Linked DNA regions of Homo sapiens: all the other regions are linked to region 1. Evidence: promoter capture Hi-C in human tissues and cell types (Jung and others, 2019). All regions are on one chromosome and are shown on one strand. Each heading gives the region's core, a stretch centred on a gene start or on the middle of the fragment in contact. The rest is flanking DNA. Distances are from core to core; before and after follow the strand shown. Region 1 holds the start of GBX2 (gastrulation brain homeobox 2). Region 2 overlaps AGAP1 (ArfGAP with GTPase domain, ankyrin repeat and PH domain 1). Region 3 overlaps AGAP1 (ArfGAP with GTPase domain, ankyrin repeat and PH domain 1).

Region 1 (4,871 bases), core at 787-3,286:
TCGCTCTCCAGCGAGAAGCTCTCCTCCTTGCCCTTCGGGTCGTCTTCCACCTTTGACTCGTCTTTCCCTTGCCCTCGGACAGCCCCGACTGAAAGCAAAACCAAACGGCATTTTATTACATTTCGCACACTGGCCTTCCTTTCTCCTTCCCACCGTCATTTGGACATTCCGCGCCCCCCGCCCCCCACCCTTTAGCGGATTGTCTTTCTATGACATTAACACATTGTGATTTCCTGGCCTTTGAGGGGTAGAGGAGGGGTGGGGGGAGCGTGAGAAAGCTCAAAGGAGAGGAGGCAGTACAGGCGACGGCCCTTTGCCCAGAACCATCACTCAAAGGGCCGCCATGCCTCCCCCGCACCCTCCCAGCCTCGGCAGCGTCAGGAGAAGTAGCAGGAGGCGCGAGGCCCAAGAGATTGCCCGCTTTGTCCCTGGGGTGGGGACTGGTTGAGGACTGATGGGGGGATTCACGATTCATCCTCCCCCCACCGCCACCATGAAAATGTAGTGAACCTCAATTGCTTCCTAACCGGAGTGGAGGCGTAGGGACGTGCAGATCCCAGACCATCTTTTTTGAGACAGACAACGTTGGTCAAAGGGATGTTTTGTGGCCTTATAAGTTCCCACCAGACACCCCCAACACAAACACACAGGCACAGCCTCCCAGCAGTCCGTTTCTCCCAGACAAGTAGCAAGACCAGCGAAGGGGTTTAAAAAGTCTGGGCGCCCCTGGGCACACGCACGGCTGAGACGCGCAGCCCAACCCGTCTCCCCTAGAGGCTGCAACCTACCCGGAACCCCAGGTCACCGCGGAGCGGCAGAGGCGGCCTCGGCCAAACGCATCGTCAGATAGATATGTGGCCCAGGGCAGCAGCTGGTCGCCGGGCGCTAAACGCCCCCCCTCCCGAGACCCCGCTTGTTGGGTGGCTCTGAATGTCCCCCGGAGGCCCAGCGGCACAGCCGGGCCTCATCCTCCAGCTCCTCCCGCGGGGGTCGAGCGGGGGCGCGGCCTCGCCCCCTTGGTCTCCCGCGGGAACCCGGCGCTGGCCCGCCCCCGCCTCCTCCCGCCCCCTCGTCCCGGCTGCGCGCGCCGCCGACTCACCGAGCGAAGCCTGCACCGTCTCGGCCGCGGAGAAGGCGAGCAGCGAGCCCTCTTTGGCCAGGAAGCCTTTGCCGTCCTCCGCGTCAGCCTGCAGCGCCTCCGCCTTGTCGAAGTTACCGCCGCCGGGCAGCGGCTGCGGCGCGAACTTGCGGGCCGCTGCCGCCTCCTGGTGCTGGGGCGACGCGGAGAAGCCGCCGGGGAGCGTGGCCATGAGCGTAGAGGTGAGCGCCATGCCCTGCGCCAGGCTGGAGCAGAAGCCTGTGGGCAGGCTGGGGATCTGGTGGTGAGGGTGTGCGGGCGGCAGCGCTGGCTGCAGCGCGGCCTGGGGCAGCGCGGGCGGCGGCGGCGGCGGCGGCGGCAGCACTACCGGCCGGTAGGGCATGAACATGGGGTAGCCGGTGTAGACGAAATGGCCGGGGCTGGGCTGCGGCGGGCTGCCGATCAGCGAGTCTATGCTGAAGGCGGTGCTACTCCCCAGCGGGCGCTGCATCATCATCAGCGACGGCGGGAACGCTGCGCTCATAGACGCGCTCGGTAGAGGCCAGCGAGAGGCGAAAAGTCCCCGCGCCGCGCCGCCGCCGGGAAGCCCGCCGGACGCCGGGAGCACCGCCGGGAGCGCCGGGCAGGGGCCGAGCGGGACCCGGAGAGCAGACGCCTCCGCCCCTCAGTCCTGGGCCCGCTGCATGCCGGGCGGGTGCAGGGGGTGTGCGGGGTGAGGCCGTGCGCCCCGGAGTGGAGAGGGCGCCCGGGCCCCGAGGGCTCGCCGGAGCCCCCGTCCGCCGCTTGCCCGTCGGAGCCCGCGCGCTTCGCGGGTTTGGCCCTCGGCCCCGGTAAGCTGCCGTCCGTCCGTCCGTCCCGCCGTCCGTCGCCTCCCGCGGGCCGCTGGGGAGCGCGCGAAGCCGGCGTACTTATCTCCGGCGGGCGCAGCCAGCACCTTTAAATCGCGCTCCTCTTTCTCATTCACATTTTGCCTGCCGCCTGGCCCGGCTCGCCTCACGTGGGGCTGGGCGCCTCTGGCCATTGGCTGAGCGGGGCGGGGGTGGGGCGAAAGCGGGGCCCCGCCCTTTCCACCCAAGCTGGCCTCGAGCGGGCTGCGGGCGCCACCGTCGGAGCGCGCGGGCCGGGGAGCCGGAGCCTGCATGCCTAGCCCGTGCCGCGCAAACTTGAGACGGGCGGATGGCACCTCCAAGGCTCGGACCTTGGGGCCCTGCAGCCTTGTCGAGGCCACCTCGAAGGGTAGCCTCCGGGGCCCGCACCCCCACGGCTGGGCCGGGGGCGCTTTATTTCTTTTACTGTATTTGCCATGGAACCAACCTGCCTGCGGCTCACTCCAGCGCTGGGTGCTCCGGCTGCGCCTGGGGTCCGGGCGAGGGTCCTGGAGTTGGGGGCAGGGTCCTGCCCCTCCGGAGCCACCCCCGGGGCGAAGGCTGGGAGCTGGCAGCGCCTGCCCGCCGCCAGAAACCCGCCGGGTTGCTCGCTGTAGGTCCGCGCACCGGGTGGGGCGGGGAGGCTGCTGCTTCCCCCATCCCGGGCTGGGCCCTCCCGTGAGCGATCCCGTCTCTCATTTTTCATGACATTCTTAATCATCGCACCTATTTACACACTTTGCCAGCGCGCACCAAAATAACAACCACGATAATTATGATAATAAAGAGAGTCCTTTATCTGCTCCATCCTCGGGGAGGAAGGGGGGAGTTGCTGTGCCTCCAGATTGTATAACGTGAGATTATCCTGATGAAAGCTTTATGATGTTTGCTCAAATAAAAGCTGCGTTTTGTAAATAGGCGCTAATTAAGCACGTTGCGAACGCAAGGAGTGCTCACCCTGGCGCCGCCGCCCGGTTTCCAGCGCGAGGACTCGAGGGCGCGCGGTTCCTCTTTGCTAACTGCAGGATGGAGCCGATCCCCTCAGGATGTTTCCCCTGTTCTCGACAACGGTAAAGACCCCCAAATTTGAAAGTAAGGGAATTTTGGGGTGGAGGGAAACTAGGGACGTACTTATCCCCTCTTCCATTTTCAAACAAAAAACTTTCAGCTCTTGTCTTCCCTTTAAAAATGGAATCACTTCTTGACAACGGCAGACCGTGCAGAGCGCACCAGCGCGAGCGGGGCTTCCTCGAGTCTCCAAGGCCCGGGCTTCAACTTCCCGGGTCTAGACGTCAGCCCTGAACCGCCAACAGCACCGGGTTGGGGAGAAGGAAAGAAGGGCATTGTTAGTTCGGTCATTAAAAATCAGCTCACGCCGAGGAGCTAGTGGTTGGGGAGTTGGCCCGTGTTGGACGTGTGTTATGTATCACTTACAAGCACATTTAATTGGGAGATAAAGATAAATCGATCTTTATGAATTTATCGACCCGATTCTTTGAAGCTCTTTTTTCGCGTTCTTCCTCTTTCTCTCGCTCTAGCCCCAAGGCCCCCCGGGGGACGTCTTAATCCCAGATCAGCTCCTCTGCCAGGAGTCCCGCCGGAGACCCACTGCCCACCCAGCAGACCTGGAGGAAAGAGGGGAGGGTGTGTCCTTGGCGCCCCGGGACGCTGGGAAAACTCGCTGGTCCGCCGCCAGCCCTCTCCTCCTCCTCGCCTCCTCCCTCCCTACCACCACCCGGACAAAGACGTCTCGATCGCGTTTCCCCACTCCAGGCCGCAGTAATAGATCGCTCCGGCAGCAGGCGGTTTGAAAGGAATTCATTAGGACGCTGCCTGGATTGCCTCCCCTGACTTCACGCCCAGACCCCGAGGTGGCTTAGGCAGTGTGAGGGGAAATGAATTCCCTTTGGGATCCATGGAGAAGGAGGTGTCTGTGGGATCTCCAGGCTCTATCCCTCCTTCTTCACTCCCAGAAAAGAAGAAAAAGAAAAAAAAAATCGAAGCCCAGGGCAAAAGGCTGATATCTTTATGAGCATAATAAATACTCCCCCTCATTATGAGATAGTTACAGTGACACAGCCTTGGGTGCCATTACCCTGTTTTTTGAATACTAAGAAACGCTCCATTCCTTCCTTGATTTACGTGGCTACAGCCGGGGCCCTTCCGGCTTGCCACTGACATGCCGGGGGAAGCTGTTATTCATTTTACCTAGGCAGGTTTGCCATGCACTTTGCTATTTCGCCGCAAAAATATTGTTCTAGGGACTTTTGTCGCCTGATTACCCTCTGAGAGGCAGGGATTCCTTTGATTATTTTGGTGATTATTCTACATTTAAAGTTCAGCAAGAAGATTTAGGTCCGTCGAATTATAGCTGCACTTGAAATAATTTGATGGCATGTTATTTGCATCCATAAATTGCCATAGCAAGTATTGACTGCAGGGGTTATAATACTAATCTTTTATTAGTGAGTTCAGATAATTCCCATCAATATGAATTTTATTTACTAGTGCCTTTTTCGCAAATGCAATGCAGTAATACTTTCTCATCTAATGCTTAGCTGCTTAGAAAACGACTGTTCGTGTCATAAAAGGATCCTTGTGTTTCGGCGTGATTAACAAGATGCATTCGGGGCACCTCAGCTACCTGCAAAGCGTTCAGAGCGTGGGGACTGCGGATAATAAAAGCCTTTAGAGTTTTTCCTCGGCTCCTCGGATAGATTTATGGACAGGAGCGATAGATGCATGGCTTATCCATCCTCCGGATTCCTACCTGCTTAGCTCGTAACAGCCTCAAACTGCAGAGTCCTCCGTGACTCAGCTCGGCCCAGTCTACGCGGGAAAATCACCGGGCACAGATGTTTGCAACTTGGTCCCCTCCCCCCTCCAATTAGGAAAAATGAAGGGCG
Region 2 (4,871 bases), core at 1,146-3,645, 250 kb before region 1:
TGTGTTTTGAGTATTGAACTGCCGTTGACATCTAAAGTCTCAACCATGCTGTTTTCTCCACACTTCAGCAATCAGGACATCCAGCAAACCCATAAAAAACCAAACTAATAGCATGAATATTCAGTGACCTAGAATACTAATTATTGTCATGAATATTAATGTGATCGGACTTGCTCTTTCCTCTCCTCTTTCTCTCTCGTCCTCTTTCTCCCTCTCTCCCTCTCTTTTTTTCCACTTAGCCGGCTCTAAAGATGGGTCATAATGAGAGCATTTAAGAGGGAGCGCTCTCCGCCGTGACAGGGACCGGGGTAATAAGGAGAGCTTGATTAACGTGGTGCACTTGGGGGAGAGATGAGAGGCTTCACGTGGTCCTGTTCGGGGGAGGCAATGAGGCACCGGCGGCTCTGTTGCTGCTCCCGGAGATTAATGAGGCCTAAGAGTGCATTAGGAACAGTGACAAAGGTTTGATCTAATGGGCTCAGTCATTTTTCCTTTGAGTGACAGACGCACAGAAGTAATTGGCTGTGCAGAATGGCAGCTCATTGGCGGTACTTAAGGATACATTATCCCCGTTGTGTGGCCCGCAGAGGCTGTTTATCAAAACTGCTCACACTGCAGACGCGGAGTCGCGAAGCTGCTGTTTCAGTGGTAATAGCTATTAAAAAAAAATAACGTGACATCAAAACTAGACCCGTTGTTGTCTCATGGAAAGAAAGTTTTTCTTTGTTTAGTTTCAAACGGTCTAGAAAACATTATAATAACTCTGGAGTCCGGAGTCTGTTGTGGGCCCTGGATGAGCAGTGTCAGTCCACACCTGTCCCCTGCCGGCATGCGGTGTGGCCAAGGCTTGGTGGAACACAGATCCTTGCTTCCCACTCATGTCGACCAAGGTCACTCGGGAGTTTTCCACACATTGGATCTTGGTTACAACATATAAATTGGAAGCTTCTGCTAAGTACCCTTCTAGCACCTTGGTAGACCATTTGCAAATGGAAGCCTTACTGGTCGAGAATTATTTTTCTGAAATAAAACCTCAATATCAGTAGCATGTGATATCTGCTTTCATAAACCAGGTTTTGTTGGAATTGGTTTTAATGTCTATTTGACAATTTTTAGGGAAAATGTTAATGTTTTGTGAGGCTTCTCAGACATCAGAAAGTTAGCTAAATCTGACATTAGAGGACACTAAAGTTCATCTTAGTTCTTTTTAAGAATTGCAGCATCTTCAGCTTTTATGAGCAATGCGTTCTCACTATTAGTTGTTTCCGTGTTTATACATTGCTCCCACTGAGGTTTAGGCAAATTCGTGTGGTATTGTTTCCATCATTAAATTGTAAACTCTTTGAGGCATACACTGTTACTTCTCTTTCTTTGTTATCCTCTCTTAGTTTTGTGACCTAGCAATTATTTTCTCATTAGGTATATATTCCTGCATGTTACCCATCATGTTAAATGTAAGTGATGGATGTTGAGGAGATTAGTTGCTTTCCTGCAGATAATGTTCCCCTGTAGTAGCTCTCTGTGGTCCTGAGCATTGGTGTGTAATTCAGAAGTAAGTATTGTACTTCCTAAATTAAGGATAGCTTCAATTATTTGAACTCTAAGTGGAGTGTTCTTTTCTGAAAGAACCAACTAAAGCAACTTGATTCCTGATGATTTCAGCTGAGACATATCAGGGGATGGCCAGGACCTTGAGTTGGATGTGGTAACAGGTGTGCCTACAAGTAAATAAAAGGTGCTTCAAACACTTTTTTTCTCTCAAAAATGTGTGTGGGCAGGGAGGAATAGTGTTTCAGCTGCTGAACTGATGCTTCCGAGACCAGCGAAGTGGTCTGCAGGGTCAGCTGTGGGAAAGAGGAGGTGCCCGGAAGAGCCTCTGTGAATTACCCGCGCCCCCTCCACCAGGGAGCCAGCTGCCAGCCCCGGGGGCCAGTGAGAACCGAGGCCTTGGGAAAGGGCTTCTGGTTCTTCCAGGCTAGAGTTGAGTCCGTGGCTTCCCTGCTTCCTGCAGTCCTTTCCCACACTGGCAGAGGAGAGTTTTTCGAAGTAATCGTGACATTTTTCCATCTCGAAACCTTGTGGCCCATTGTTTTGAGTTACCACTCATATAGTGAACGTTTGCGTTTCTGGAGTATTTCTAGGGAGTGGTCAAACCCCGTAACATCCCAACCAGCAAACCTGTAAAACCCGCCTCATGTTATCAGACTTGTGAGCCCGGGGTACTCCTTGGTGCTTTGTCTTCCCTGTGTCATTGCTGGATTCAGTTGTGAGATCATTTTGTAAGAACTGGAAAGCAGAGAAAGAAGTAGTAGTGAATACTTCTCAGGATAGAGCTGTGGGGCCACCTGCTCCTGGAAGGGGACTGTAAAATTCAGAGATGACCGGGGAACGCTCCCCTCAAAACAGTGTTGTCAAATGAAAATGAATTTCATGTTAAAAACACACACACACACACCTGTTGCATTTATCATATAAAGGAGAAAGAATATTGTAAAGATGGAACCGTTATTCATGGCAAAGGAAGACACCAAACAAAGAAAAATTCTTTTCTTCTCCGTCTTCACAATGCTTACACCCCTCATCCTCGCTGTTGCATCAGCTTGTCCATATAACCCATACCAGGAGATGGATTGTGGCCAAGACAAGCCGTACGATGGCGCTCTCCATAAACACTGTCGGAATCTGGAGCAGCACGTGTTCCTTCAGCAGATAAAAATGGCAAAATGAGAATGGCACACATTGTTTTGCAAAGGTCGGAATAAGACTCCACGTTTTAGGAAGTGACGACGAACCGTCTAATTCTAGGATGTTGAATTCTGCTTGGCCACGTTGATGTATTTAGTAGTCGTTAAATTTGTCATTGCAACTGGGTCTGGATTCTGTATATTCTTTTTTCTGTTATGTAGAACTGTGTGGCTGGAGAAAGCAACTTTGTCTTTAGAATAAATACTTACACTTATTTCTAAATATAATTACTTAAATGAGAACTTAGCGTCTGACATGGTAAATATTTTGTCTTAAATTGTACCAATTGCCACATGATATCCACTCCCAACATGGAGCAGTAACCCAGGGATGGGAGGGAAGGGATGACTCTGGCGCTCCAGCTCACTGTCACCTGCTGTCAGGCCATGTCCTTCATCCGCTGCATGCGCATGGTGCCCCAAGCGCAGGGTTGTTGTTTTTTTTCTCTCCTTCCTTTCTTTTGTAAACTGTACCTCTGACAACATTGGCATCGCTCTGATCATCAGACCTTTGGGATGCTGGAAGATGGGGGGTGCCGTGGAGTTCTCCACAGCACCAAGCACTTCACTAGTTGATGGTGGGTGTTCAGTAAGTACTCACAGAGGGAATGAATGAGCTCAAGCAAAGTGATGCCAACTACAGCACTAAAGCAAACAGGAGGCAGATGGCATGCACAGTTCATACATGAAGAGACACCATTACAAGGGAAACATAAGGAAAATATTCAGACATTTTAGATTTTAAAGACAAACAAGATTAGCAACATCACCATTTTAAGCTTTTGCTAAAAAACTGTAGAGATAGGAAAACCCACTGTTGATGAGATTAATAACTGATATCTGCAGAGGTTTTACAGTTTACAGAGTGCTTTACATAATTTGATCATTATATTAACCACATGGGGCATACTGTTATCATTATCACCATTTCTTCATTATTATTATTATCCACTTAGAAATTATGGACTAAATTGCTTTAAAGATGCCCAGGTTCCATCTTCTTTTAGTTACTGGTCATTAAGAAAATTAATTAGCAACATATATCATGAATCAGAAAGATATATTATGCTGTTTGTTCCAGTAATAACGCTGCTGAGAATTTCTTCTAAGGAAAATTCAAAAGTAGAAGATGTCCTTTGCAGTGTTGTTTATAGCCAGAAATTGGAAACAACCAAAACTATCCAGAAGTAGAAAAATGGTGATATAAATTATCTACATTAAATCAATAATGTTACATATCTAAAATTATGAAGATTACATAACAACATGGGGAAAATGGTTAGGAAATCATATTAAAGAAGTGTATAAAGTTATATCTTTTCTGTGGCCATAACCAAGAACAATGTATGCATATGTTCAATAAAAAATTGATCTGTTAGACGAGATTTTGGTGGATTTAGTTTACATTATTTGTATATCTGTACTTTTGCCAAGTATATTTTAACAGTACAACAAAATAGGCCCCCATTATTTTTTTCCTTGACATCATAATTTAGAACAGGGAGAAAGCAGCATACAATGAGCTGTTTCTACGTTGTAGGAAAGAGCTGTGTAATTCCAGGATGTGGAATCCTAAGCCTGGCCACGTTGCTGTATTTAGTAGTAATTACATCTGTCATTGTGACTAGGTCTGAACTCTGTACTCTGTCTTGATAAACATAACATGGAAAATCTCTTAACTAAACAAAAGGTATCAAGAAACACCAGATTTGTGTCTTCCTAGTAGATATGTTGAATTGTACTCTTTTACAAAACAAGTATCACAGGATGCAGAGTCCCGAATGCCTACATCTTATAAGATACTGAATGTGTCCTTGGAAAAAAAATCCTCTCAGCCTGAAATTCCACTTGCCAAAAGCAAGGCAGATCTCCAATGCAAATACAGGAGCGAATGGGCCCCATTCACAGGCCTTAAATCGTGTGTCTCACTTTTTATGGTAGTGTTGTGAATTCTGTTCTTTTTGGGTTTGTAATTAGAGGACAGAACAGATGGCGAAGGCCTAGTTTGAAGTGATGTGACTGTTAACGTCGCCTCCTTCATCCAGTTGTGATTCCAGGGAACCCGGTTTTCCCACACATGCGCACAACGGGCGTGGTGCAGCTGTAGGGTTTGCAAGGTAGCCGCTC
Region 3 (4,871 bases), core at 1,402-3,901, 190 kb before region 1:
ATAATATTTAAGATATCTCACCGCATTTGCCGCTGAGCACACATGTTGAGCGTCGAGGACAGGTTCAATTATGTGGCCACTGTGTTCAGGTTCCCGGATTGATCCGGGGGAGGCTCTAAGCTTTGAGGAGATCTGGCGGTTAGTTTCCATCTTGGCATAAAAGCATTAATTATCTAAAGATCTTTTCATCTGCAGGAAAATAGGCAGAGAATTCTTCCTACTGTTGAGTGGTCGCTCCGTGTGACCGTGGAGCTCATGTCAGCATTGCTAGGTTTGGGCTCAGCCTGCTACCCTGTGCCCAAAAGACTTTCTCCCATTGTTTCCTCCCTCCCCTCGCTATTGAGCTTGAAGTCTGGGGACATTTGAAAGGATGGGATTGTTTCTTACCAAAATGAGGCATGATGTTGCCTCTTAAGAAAATCAGACAATTAAACCAATGTTACTATGTAGAAGTGAAAACTGGTATAAACCAAGATTTTTTGCCTCCTCCTGTTATGCTCTTAATTCTGATTCTTGTCTTACGGATTGTCTTAGAATGATTAGGAAAACTTCTAAGGTGTTTTATTTTTTTGTTTTAACATTTTGTGCAAGGCTAAGGAATTAGACACCCCAGAGTATGTGATCACTGTGAGATGTTTCTCAAAGTCTGTCTTGAACTTGCCAACACATGCTGCCTCGGGGCCTGTGGTCACTAAGCTTATATGAGGGACGAGAGCCGTAGCATTGCTCCAGCAGGTATTTCAATAACTTGATTTGACTCTTCTTAATTAAATAAATAGGTAGCTTTGTTCTTTGGCTTGATTATTCATTTGGGTCTTTCTTGCTTTCTTCAGGTAGGAATGATTTTCCCCTTCAGTTGGTTTTCTGCAGAAGCCATGATATACTGTAGGCATGGTTACCAGAACACCCCTAAGAGAGCTGACCAGAATTTCTAAGTTCATGTTCCATGCGTACACACACACACACACACACACACGGTGTTATTTTTTTTCTTTCTGAATTTCATGAAAATAAAATATTTTCTACCAGAATACACATTTAGTGATGCCTCTTTCAAAGAGGAAATCAATCACGAAACAGAAACTCAGAGTTGACAATCTATTAGCAATAATATCACTATCAATTATTGACCACTGCCATGTGTCAGGCACTGGGCTTAAGTGCTTTACACGCAGCGTCTCATAACCCTCACAAGAACCTGGGAGGTGGGTGCCGTTATCCGCATTTTTATAACTGAGGAAACCGAGGGTCATAAAGTTTAAGTAACTTGCTCAAGGCCATAGACGTAGAAAGCAGCGATAGGGCCACCGATCCAGGCGAGGGCAGCAGTGCTCGCCGCCTCTAACACATCTCCACGGTGACCTTCCCTTCCCTTGGAAGGGGGCGCTTGTCTTTTCAGCGGTCTTGCCTCCGAATCTTGGCTTGTCTAGGATTCTTCCTACAGAAGAAGTTCATATAAAATAAGGGGTTTTATTATGGGTTATCTGAAGAGTGTTTCTTAATTTTAATAAGTTAATATTCCAACCATAAAAACTTCTGACATTTTACCCGAGGCTGTGCTTCAGCAGATTGACAGAATGCATTTTTACAGCACTTAGAAAATACCAGATCCACGAAGAACAAATGATCAAAGTTTCAAAGGCTGTAATTTTGGAAAGCTGGCATATATAATGATGATCTCTTCGCAGCCTGGTAATTTTACCTGGACAAGTAAATCCATTTCTCACATTTAAAGAGAATCAAAGAGTCAGTAAACATGCAGAAACACTTTTAGCTGTGAATGCAGAGTAACTCTTACAATTAACATATAATTACCTCAACGGGCCAATTAATTAAGCAATTTAAGATCTATAACTATTTTCATGATTTTCCCCCAAAATATTACTTTATTCTGCACACCGTGGGGACATCAGCTGGGAGGGTCATAGCTAGGAGGTCAGAAGGAAGGGGGGACGATTCATGCAATGAGGCACTGCTGTTGTGGGGTGTTGGTTTGAAGAACTCATAAATGGTAAAAGTAACCTGTATTATCATTGGTTCTAGGGGACTACTGAAGATAAGAATTTTCAACCTTCCTCTTCGTTGTCTGCTCTCCCAGGCTCATTGAAGGAACATAGAGAAGGTTTAGGCCCTGTTTCTTTTCGAGCAGCACAGAAATACTTGCCCAGTCCGTTCGTGGAAGGAAAGAACCGAAGCCAGCCCTTGGCTGCCATTCTTTCCAGACTTCCACCATTGTGCCCTGAGTGGTTCCAGAATGTCATTGATGGGAAATTGGTTTTCTTTCCTTCTGGACATTCAAAGATTAATATGTTACTGTCATCAGTGACTTGTTACCTTCTGTTTCTGATTGCCAGCTCATCAGCTTAGTTTGCCCAGGAGAGCCACTTTTTCCCACGTTCTTTTACTTGAGTTCTGAGACAAGATTTGATACCCATTCATTTATAGGCCAAATCCAGTTCTTATTTTAATTTTTTTTCCCAACCCCTAAAAAGCATTTGCAAACACTCCTCCACACTGTTCAGATGAGCGATGTGTGAGCATGAGGAGACATTCCTTAAGCCAGCCTGGTCTGTGGAGGTGTGCTCACTGCTGCAGGGCCATTTGCTGAGCAGGAAGCTGGCCTCAGGGGTCTCCCAGGATGCTGGGGCTGGTGGACGACCCCAGAGAAGGGACAGGATGGGGGGTTATGGAAGTGCCCAGCAAGGGGAGCTGCAGGAGGGTCTCTTTACAGGTGTGCAAAGGACCAGCGCTGCTGCAGGGAACATGGCTGGGAGGGCATCCACCGGGGCAGGGGTCTGGGCAAGGGGCTTCTCCCCTTGCTAGGCCCCCTCCTTTTGTTCAGCTCCTCCTCTCCAGCACCAACCTCCCATCACTTTCTACATTCTGGCCCCTTTTTCTCCTTTCCTTCTTTCTCTTCCATTCTCCTTTTTCCTGTAAGACTGTCCTTGCTTCTCTTGTTTAATTTCTTTTTTCTTCTTTTCCCATCCATAACCTCATCATTGTCTTTTTCTCCCTTTCTTATTCTCTTTTTTCTTTGAACTTTTTTTTATTGTGGCAAAATACAGTCATGCATCACATTACAACATTTTGTTCAATGATGGACCAAGTAATGTGATGGTGGTCCCATGAGATTATAATACCGTGTCCTTACTGTGCCTTTTCTATGGTTAGATGTTTAAATACACACTTCCCATTGTGTTGCCACTGCCTACAGTTTTTGATACAGTCACATACTGTATGGGTTTATGCCCTGGGAGCAATAGGCTCTGCACATAGCCTGAGTGTGTGGTAGCCACACCATCTAGGCTTATGTATGGACTCTGTGATGGTCACACAATGACAAAATCGCCTAACGACACATTTCTCAGAATGCATCACTTAACGATGGGGATACATGGCTGTATGTAACATAAAATTTGCCATTTTAATTGTTTTTAAGTGTTCAATTCAGTGCCGTTGAATTATATTTTCACATTCACAGTGCTGGACAACCATGACCGCCATTCCCAAAACATTTTCTTCACTCCAAACAGAAATCTGCTAACCATTAAGCAACAACTCCCCAGCCCCTACTTCTCCCAGCCCCTGTGACCTCCAGCCTGCTTTCTGTCTGTGAATTTGCCTCATCTGGATATTTCATATCAAAAGAATCATATGATAGTTGAATATGGATCCTTTTGTGTCTGGCATCTTATATTTGGCATAATGTTCCATGTTGTAGCATGTGTCTGTACACCATTCTTTTTAAAGGATGGATAATATTCCATAGTGTGGATTTACAACATTTTGTTTGTTGACAGACACTTGGATTGTTTCCGCCTTTTGGCTGTTATGAAGGATGCTGCGTGAACATTGTCACACAAGTATCTGTTTGAGTCCCTGTTTTCAGTTTTTCCTAGGGTATAAACCTAGGAGTGGAATTGCTGGGTCATATGGTAACTCTGTTCAACTTTTCAAGGAACCACCAAATTCTTTTTTTTTTTCCTTTATTTCTTAAAAAAAAAAAAAAATAGATGCGCAGATTGTGCAGGTTTGTTACATAGGTATACATATGCCATGGTGGTTTGCGGCACCTATTGACCCATTTCTAAGTTCCTTCCCCTCACCCCCGACCCCCAAACAGGCCCTGGTGTGTATTGTTCCCCGCTCTGTGTCCATGTGTTCTCGATGTTCAATTCCCACTTATGAGTGAGAACCTATGGTGTTTGACTTTCTGTTCCTGTGTTAGTTCGCCGAGGAAGATGGCTTCCAGCTTCATCCATGTCCTTGCAAAGGACATGATCTCATTCCTTTTTATGGCTGCATAGTATTCCATGGTGTATATTTAGCACATTTTATTTATCTAGTCTGTCATTGTTGGACATTTGGGTTTGTTCCATGTCTTTGCTATTGTAAATAGTGCTGCAATAAACATATGTGTGAATGTGTTTTTATAGCAGAATGATTTATATTCCTTTGGGTATATACCTAGTAATAGGATTGCTGGGTCAAATGGTATTTCTGGCTCTAGATCCTTGAGGAATCGCCATACTGTCTTCCGCAATGGTTGAACTAATTTACATTCCCACCAACAGTGTAAAAGCATTCCTATTTCTCCGTAGCCTCACCAGCATCTTTTGTTTCCTGACTTTTTAATAATCACCATTCTAACTGGCATGAGATGGTATCTCACTGTGGTTTTGATTTGCATTTCTCTGATGATCAGTGAGTTGAGCTTCTTTTTCATATGTTTATTGGCTGCATAAATGTCTTCTTTTGAGAAATGTCTGTTCATATCCTTTGCCCACTTTTTGATGGGGTTGTTTGTTTCTTGTAAATTTGTTTAAGTTCTTTGTGGATTCTGGGTATTAGCCCTTTGTCAGATGGATAGA

The links. The method cuts DNA at HindIII sites, captures the fragments that hold promoters and counts their contacts. A contact is called where the count stands out against the background at its distance.
Region 2: a fragment that was not itself captured here is called in contact with the fragment with the promoter of GBX2 in region 1 in 3 of the 25 tissues and cell types used here (H1 embryonic stem cells, heart right ventricle and spleen).
Region 3: a contact is called between a fragment that was not itself captured here and the fragment with the promoter of GBX2 in region 1, in 1 of the 25 tissues and cell types used here (mesendoderm cells).

The regions. Positions count from the first base shown.
Region 1 is chr2:236,166,350-236,171,220 of GRCh38, forward strand. It overlaps GBX2 (gastrulation brain homeobox 2), which reads right to left and starts at 2,037. Exons shown (of 2, transcript NM_001485.4): 1 at 1,100-2,037; 2 at 1-88. The coding sequence starts at 1,622. It overlaps GBX2-AS1 (GBX2 and ASB18 antisense RNA 1), which reads left to right and starts at 1,093. Exons shown (of 2, transcript NR_186035.1): 1 at 1,093-1,320. It overlaps LOC124906126 (a long non-coding RNA gene), which reads left to right and starts at 2,677. Exons shown (of 2, transcript XR_007088136.1): 1 at 2,677-3,035; 2 at 3,180-3,447. RefSeq lists an enhancer at 216-1,168. The HindIII fragment of the contact is 12,753 bases long and covers 1-4,871 here.
Region 2 is chr2:235,917,271-235,922,141 of GRCh38, forward strand. All of the region lies in intron 11 of AGAP1 (ArfGAP with GTPase domain, ankyrin repeat and PH domain 1), which reads left to right. Among named protein-coding and RNA genes, the nearest start is that of GBX2-AS1, 250 kb to the right of the region's middle. The HindIII fragment of the contact is 4,419 bases long and covers 187-4,605 here.
Region 3 is chr2:235,980,499-235,985,369 of GRCh38, forward strand. The region is part of intron 13 of AGAP1 (ArfGAP with GTPase domain, ankyrin repeat and PH domain 1); the gene reads left to right. All of the region lies in intron 1 of LOC124907999 (a long non-coding RNA gene), which reads left to right. Among named protein-coding and RNA genes, the nearest start is that of GBX2-AS1, 180 kb to the right of the region's middle. The HindIII fragment of the contact is 4,487 bases long and covers 409-4,871 here.